2 separate regions of the Homo sapiens genome follow, and region 2 is linked to region 1. Evidence: promoter capture Hi-C in human tissues and cell types (Jung and others, 2019). All regions are on one chromosome and are shown on one strand. Each heading gives the region's core, a stretch centred on a gene start or on the middle of the fragment in contact. The rest is flanking DNA. Distances are from core to core; before and after follow the strand shown. Region 1 overlaps PPARD (peroxisome proliferator activated receptor delta). Region 2 holds the start of DEF6 (DEF6 guanine nucleotide exchange factor).

What was found. The method cuts DNA at HindIII sites, captures the fragments that hold promoters and counts their contacts. A contact is called where the count stands out against the background at its distance.
Region 2: the fragment with the promoter of DEF6 here is called in contact with a fragment that was not itself captured in region 1 in 2 of the 25 tissues and cell types used here (aorta and thymus).

The regions. Positions count from the first base shown.
Region 1 is chr6:35,376,542-35,380,366 of GRCh38, reverse strand. The region is part of intron 2 of PPARD (peroxisome proliferator activated receptor delta); the gene reads right to left. Among named protein-coding and RNA genes, the nearest start is that of PPARD, 36 kb to the right of the region's middle. The HindIII fragment of the contact is 8,220 bases long and covers 1-3,825 here.
Region 2 is chr6:35,296,081-35,299,730 of GRCh38, reverse strand. It overlaps DEF6 (DEF6 guanine nucleotide exchange factor), which reads right to left and starts at 1,913. Exons shown (of 11, transcript NM_022047.4): 1 at 1,779-1,913. The coding sequence starts at 1,874. RefSeq lists a silencer at 3,412-3,576. The HindIII fragment of the contact is 30,942 bases long and covers 1-3,650 here.

The sequences.
Region 1 (3,825 bases), core at 23-2,522:
GTGAGACATCATTCTTCTGTCTTCTTCTATCTCACTGTGAGATGTGGAACCACGGCAACCATTTTGGACCATGAGGACAGCAGCCACACCCTAAGAATGGCAGGGCACAGAATTGGAAGGAGTCTGGGTTGCTCATGACCTAATGGAGCTTCCACAACTGTCTGAGACTATAGACTACCTAACTCAGTCAGAATCCCTATCCATCAATCCATCAATCCATCCATAAATGCTTCAGATCACAATTTGCTACATTTTCCTCTAATCTTCAGTAATAGATTCCAAGTCACACTCCCAGACATTCTGATTCAGCAATCACTTTGAGATACACTCTCCTAGAAAAATGGAAAATCAGATTCATTGAACAGGTAAAGAAACTATCTGAGACTCCACAGGACAAACCTTGATACCTCAAAAGCAGCAACTGCTGATGACGTGCCCCTAGAAGACCTTGGAGATTAGCAGATGACACTGCAAAGTTAATCTATCATAATTTGGAGAAATGGAAGAAAGGAAAAGTTCATAAAGACCAAGAGAGAGCACATTTGGGGCTATTCCTCAGAAACAGATAAAAGGTAGTCCTAGTTAATTCAGACCAGTCTGTAACAGTGCCAGCAAGTCATCTGAGAAAAAACAAACGAATAGTCCAAGCCTCAGAAAGAGAACAGCTCCTTTTGGGCAAAAGCACCAAGTTGTCAAAGGGACACACTTGCATGCAGTGGCATCAGACAGCATTACTGTTGGGCACCACTGGTTGCAGCTTTCTGTGTGCTAGGAATTCTCTCCAACTAGAGTGCAAGCTCTCCTCTCTAAGAAGAGGGACTTGTGGCATTACTATTTCCGTATCTTCAGCAATAGCACCCAGCACAGTACTGAACACATAGTTGCTTAATATATGACCACAGACTGAGAGCTGTCAAGAAAGAACTAATGGGATTCACGTGGGTTGGGCAAAGATGCCTACTGCAAGCCAGGCGCGGTGGCTCATGCCTGTAATACCAGCACTTTGGGAGGCTAAGGTGGGCAGACCACAAGGTCAGGAGTTCGAGACTAGCCTGGGCAACATGGTAAAACCCCATCTCTACTAAAAATACAAAAATTAGCCGAGCGTGGTGGCGGATGCCTGTAACCCCAGCTACTCGGGAGGCTGAGGCAGGAGAATCGCTTGAAACCAGGAGGCGTAGGTTGCAGTGAGCAGAGATTGAGCCATTGCACTCCAGCCTGGGCAACAAGAGTGAGACGCTATCTCAAAAAAGAAAAAAAAAAAAAAAAAGAAAGAAAAGACGCCTACTCCAAGCCCTAACCCTGTGCCCACCTCTGAGTTCAAGCTGATTCCTGAAATTCCAGCCAAGGGAATTGAGAGTTGGTGCTGTCATTGTTCATCACTCTCATGAGACTGTTATCTGATGGATAATCTGGGGATCTTTAAAGGTTCGATTGCCTTCTCTTCTGAGAATATTCCTATGATAGAGTCTCAAGAGTCCAGAGAATTCAGGCAAAGCTGAGGAGAATGACACAGGCCATTAAGCTCTGCCCCGGACCTATCTCATCTGCCCTTTTTAGTTGTTAAGTCGCAGTAGGGTAGAAATCTTAACGAGGTCAGAAGTGATGGGTGACACAGCTCTAAATGCCAGGTACTGAGTTTTCACATCCTGGTCTCCTCGGAGGCCCCGGGCATACAGAGTCACCTACTCCTAAAGCAACTGCGCCTTTCAGAAGTGCAGCCTTATTCTAAAATTAAAGATTCTCAGGGCCCACTAGGATTATAATTAGTTTGTATTCCTCCACCTGGCACTCAGAGACGCTGAGTTTGGGAAGGGAATGTGGGGCATGCATTCTTAAGTCTGGAAACCACTTTAATTTGCAAGATTTAGTGGCTTTTTCTGGCCACTGGCTTGTTTTAAGTCTCTGGCATCCTCAGCTAGACTAAGAATTGTTACCTTGTGTCCCAGCCATACTGATTCACATTTCCATCAACTTGGCACAAAATGTGCCAAAAAACAAGCTTTCCTGCTGTCATTCCCTGCCTCTGCGTCCCATACCACTCCCAGCACTTGCCTCTACTCAGCCAGAGAAATTCAATGCAATTAAACTACCAACACTGAATGCCCACCAAATGACAGGTAGAATGTAAGGAGTTTCAAGTACCAAGAAAAACAAGACCCTGCTCTCAAGGGGGTCAGAGTCGGCTGAAAAAAGGAGATACGTGGCCAGGCGCAGTAGCTCATGCCTGTAATCCCAGCACTTTGGGAGGCCGAGGCGGGCGGATCACAAAGTCAAGAGATGGAGACCATCCTGGCCAACAGGGTGAAACCCCGTCTCTACTAAAAATACAAAAATTAGCTGGGCATGGTGGTGCACGCCTGTAGTCCCAGCTACGTGGGAGGCTGAGGCAAGAGAATGGCCTGAACCCAGAAGGCAGAGGTTGCCGTGAGCCAAGATCGCACCACTGCACTCCAGCCTGGCGACAGAGCAACACTCTGTCTCAAAAAAAAAAAGATACGTAAACAAGCAGCGACCCACAGAGTGATAGTTACTACAGACAGAGACCCCAAGCTCTGAAGGAGTAAAGGCTGCTCTCCTGGGAGGGATCAAGGAGAGGAGGGGAGACAGGCAATTCCAGCAAAGGAATAAACAGTGCAATTGCGCAGAGGCCTGGCAGCCTCAACTGCTGGGGGCAGCAACCACAGAGGCAGCCAACAGGGATCAGGGTTACTGCATGCCGGACGCTGCCATTTTACAGATGAGAAAGCTGAGTTATGGAAGGGATAAGTAACTTGTCCAAAATCATACCTTATGAAAAGACAGGTTCCAAGCCAAACAGCTGGACCCTAAAACCTGTGCTTTTAAACATTACAGTACATGGTATGCAAATAGTTCAATTTGCTGAAGTGTAAAATTTAAGAGCTAAGTTTATGCAGGAGAGGTAGAATGGGCTGCATCATGAAAAGCTTCATATGACACGCTAAGCATTTGAACAAACTTTCAGTAGGATACGGGACTAAATTAACGTGAAAGAGCTTCCCCTTTCCACCACTATCACAGAAAAATACCAGATAAAATAAAACAAATGACGTCCGTAGACATGCAGCCAAATTGGAAAGAGAAATGCCTATGTGCGAGAAGAATTGAAACATAAACAGTGAGTGGAACTGACACCACAATGGCCTGTGGACTTTCGCACCCACAAATGAAGCGGTTTAAAGCCTGCCTGTGGCTTTGAGCCCCAGTATCAAGAAGAGAGCCTCAAAGGGCTGCCCAGTAAAGGAAAGCAACAAGAAGCTGAACACTTCTCCAAGGCTCTGTGGGTCAGGTATGGGTGGGAGGTCACCCTTTCTTTTTTTTTTTTTGAGACAGAGTCTCACTCTGTCGCCCGGGCTGCAGTGCAGTGGCGTGATCTCAGCTCACTGCAAGCTCTGCCTCCCGGGTTCATGCCATTCTCCTGCCTCAGCCTTCCCAGCAGCTGGGACTACAGGCACCCACCACCTCACCCGGCTAATTTTTTGTATTTTTAGTAGAGACGGGGTTTCACCGCGTTAGCCAGGATGGTCTCAATCTCCTGACCTCATGATCCCCCTGCCTCGGCCTCCCAAAGTGCTGGGATTACAGGTGTGAGCCACCATGCCCGGCGGGAGGTCACCCTTTCTTAAGCCACCAAGCTAGTCCTGCCCATGGATATAAAACTGAACTTACACTACTAGGGTAGTAAAGGGGTGCCGCACTAAGCAGTGAACAAAAACTGAGCCAGGACCACTGAAACACTCATGGCCCCGCCAGAGGCAAACAAGCTGCTCTGAGGTATACTTTCATAATTCAGGACCCAAGTCT
Region 2 (3,650 bases), core at 664-3,163, 81 kb after region 1:
GTAGGAGGGAACTCTATAATTGATCCTGTGTGACCAGAGATGTTGCTGGCAGTAGGTTCAATATGAGCTGTGATGAGGTACAGACAGTGGACAGTTCAAGCATGCAAGCTCTCCATGGAGTATTTCCCTAGAAATACGCAACCTGTGGGGATGAGGGAGTGGGTAGTGGCCCTTTTAGAGGGCAAGACAGAGGCTCAAGCTAGGAGGCTTTACTGGCTGATGGCACCAGGAAAAGGGGAGCCACTTAAAGGCTGTACTTTCCATGTGAAGGGCAGAGAGAGCCTGGAGAGGTCTCAGTGGCCACAGGTAATACAGAAGTGGAAAATGTTACCCTGGAAGCAAAAAGCCACGGGGGCTGGTATTGTCTGGCAAGATATTAAAGGGACAGGGTGGGAGGTAGGGGTGGGACACAGAGTTTGCAGAAATGGATTTTGGATGATCGACTTTTTTCCATTTATACTGAGGACCCAACCAAATGACATGATCTGCAATACAAGAGATTTAAATAGGATGTAAGGAAGAATCTGCCTGTTAGGAGGTTCTCCCTAGGTGACAAAAGATAGTAGTGGGCTCTCCTTCCTGGGGGAGTGAAATCATCTATTAGATGCTCACAAATCCAGGTAAGGAATTTAACATAGGACCAGTTTGGGATATTCAAGTTCCTCACATCCAAGTTCAGTAAAGTAGGGGGTTGGAACGGTGGTGGGGCACAATAACTGTTCTGTCCCATTCATCTCTCAGGTATCCAGCACCCTCTACCTCGGTCATTAAGAATGGAGGTTTCCTTGAGACCACACGTCTCCTTTGGAGGATGGGGCAGGGAGACACCAGTTTAGTGCCTAGCCACATGCCAGGCACAGAGCCTCACGAGGGGCACTCAAGTACTTGCAGAGTGAACGAAGGCACCCCTATGGCAGGTCCTAGAGAGCTGAGGCCTACCTTGCTCCTTTCCCCCAGTGTTCGCTGATTCTAGTGGCTGAGGGCCTTGCTTCCTCCCCACTAACTAGGGTAGGGAAGGCAGCACTACTGGAGGACTAGAGGAAGAGAGAGAAAAACTCCTTGGCCTCCCAGAAATTGTCTAGGCCAGATGATTGACTTCAGGACAATCATTGATTGGGATTTTCCTGGGCTTAGATTCTCCCCCTTCCCTACCTGAGGTCTCAAGGCCTAAGGTAAGTTTCCCAACCTGATATGTGTGGTGGATAGGGGGGTGAGCTGCGTAGCAGTATAATAGGGTCCTCAGTCCTCACCCACTCCGCAGCTCTGTCCCACCTGGCGGGCAGGGTTAGACAGGCCAGACAGGTTTGGGACTGGGGGCGGCCCCTTTATGCCTCTCTCAGCTCCAGAGGAAATGACTGCCAAGCACTGGCTAACTGTTTCTCTTGAAAGTCAGGAGGAAGCAGCAAGAAAGAGCACACTGCGTGCCCAAGCATGACTCTGTGGAGGTGTGTGTGCTCATCACACAGAGTCTGGGATGTGGCCTGGCTCCTGGCCCTCAGAACCCCATAATGGCCCTCAGAACCTCCTGGCCTCCAGTTGTGGGGCCCAGTTCTGCGCAAGGTTTCTGCACACACTTCACTAGGTCTCTGGAGGGTGGGCAGCGGCATCTACCAGGCTACGTTGGCCCAGTTACCCAGGACCAGCCCCCCGACCCCAGGCCCGGGACGCTGGATGGCTGGGTGCCCCTGGAGTGGCACAGTGTCCACACCTGGCTCCCAGGCGGCAGGGGCTGGTGTGGTGCATCTGCCGTCCTCCCCCGGGTCCCGGGTGCCCCTCACCTTGAGCTGGGACTTGGAGACTTTGCCACTCTTCTCCACGTCCAGCGCGGTAAAGGCGTACCAGATGGACTTGAGCAGTTCCTTGCGCAGGGCCATGGCTGAGGCGCCCGCCCGGCTGGGGGCGGCTCTGACACTAAGATCCGGTTTCAGGAAATGCAAACGGCTGCAGAGACCGCAGAGGTGCCGTGGTGGAGCGAGAGCACCACCTGCCTGCACATTGCGTGAGGCTCTGTGCTGTCGAGAACCCTGCCTGTTGTTCTGGCAGTGCTCAGAGGCTCCACTCCCTGCATGGGAACTGGGGACCAACTCTCCGAGAGCGGGAACCCTCGTTCTGTATCCACGTGGCTCCCGGGGCATGTGAGGCCCTTTTAGAAGCCTCCTCAGACCCGGAGGCTTCTGGAGCCTTCCAGGGCTCCCAGACGCAGCTTGCTGAGGGAAAAAGCAAGCTCATCCTGATATTGGGGTCAGACAGAGTAAAGGTCCAGTCCTAGTTCAACATAGGAGGCCTTGGGTAAGTTACTTAACCTCCTTGAGCAGTTTCCTCATTTGTAAAGCAGGAAAAATGCCTCCGTGTTGTAAGAATGTCTGAGAATGGACGTAAAGCACATAGTAGGCTCTGGGTAGAGCTTTTGGTGCTACTTAACATTACCATGGTGGTGGGACTCCATCCAAGTGGAAGGAAACAAAGGCAACATCACAAAGCTGGAGAAGGAAATGGGCCAGGGCACCTCTCCAGGTCAGGATGTGGCACTTGACTTGCTGGCTCCCTATCCCCTCAGCACTGGCTCTAAACGGTACTCAGAGCACTGCCCACTCTAGCCCCAGTAGCCCTGAAGACACTGGAAACTTCCTGAAACACATGGGGGTGAGCCTTGTGGTGCACCTCAACTTTAAGGGTCCCAGCAGCAGCAGGCTTGGGATTCAGGGCCCTCCATGTCAGTGCTTCCTTTCTTCAGATCCAGTGTCCAAAAGGACTGGGACACGCCCACACCAGGAATGGTGGTCACAGATGTTGAAGACATCTGCTCAGGCCAATTCTAAGACACCTCCCCCTACCCCCTAAGCCAAATAAAAATCCCTCCAAGTAAGGTGCTGGGAATACCTCCTGCCTGGAAGCACGCCCCCGCCCCTCTCTTCCCAAGGAGCTGGTGGCAAGAGTAAATGGGAGCTTTCTAGGCATCCTGGGAGAGGATGCCTGGATCAGAGGAGGGGGTTCCAATCCTAGGAGGCAGGAAGGGGTTGGGGCATATCCATCACAGCAGAGAGAGGAAAAGAGGCACCACCAATCCCTGCAATGTTCCTGTGTAGGCAGAGTCAAACCCAGAGCTTCTTCCCATCAAGTGCCTTCCCCTGTATCCCTTCTTCCCCCTGGAGCTGATCTGGTCTCACCAACTCACTTTTCAGTGGGGTCTGATTGTGGCTTTGAAATCCCACAGCACAGTCCTAGGCACCTAGGTGGGCACCCCCAGAGCTGGGTAATAGAGCCAAGACTTCAGCTCCAGAGGCATCAGACTCTGCTCCTTGAATCTCAGTAACCTTGGCAAAGGTGTCCCCCAGCCTCACTCTAACCTGGGGCTTTGCCCTCTTGGAGAAGCTGACTGTGTGATTTGGGGGTGGCTGGGTTGGAGGGGCTCTGACTACGTTTCACAAGAAAAGGCAGGAAAAGAGTTCCCCCAGCTCAATCACATGAGGCCTGAGATTCAGCCAGAGCCTGGAAGCAGCGGTCACCCTGGTCCTGTTTGGCTACCCTGGAGCCCACCTGCTCAGCTGTGGGCAAGAAGCCACCAGCAGCTCCTCAGGGCTTTATCTTATACTGGGCTTCCTTCCCACCTGTGTCCCTGGCAGGCCAGCCCCACCACTCTGGCACCAAGG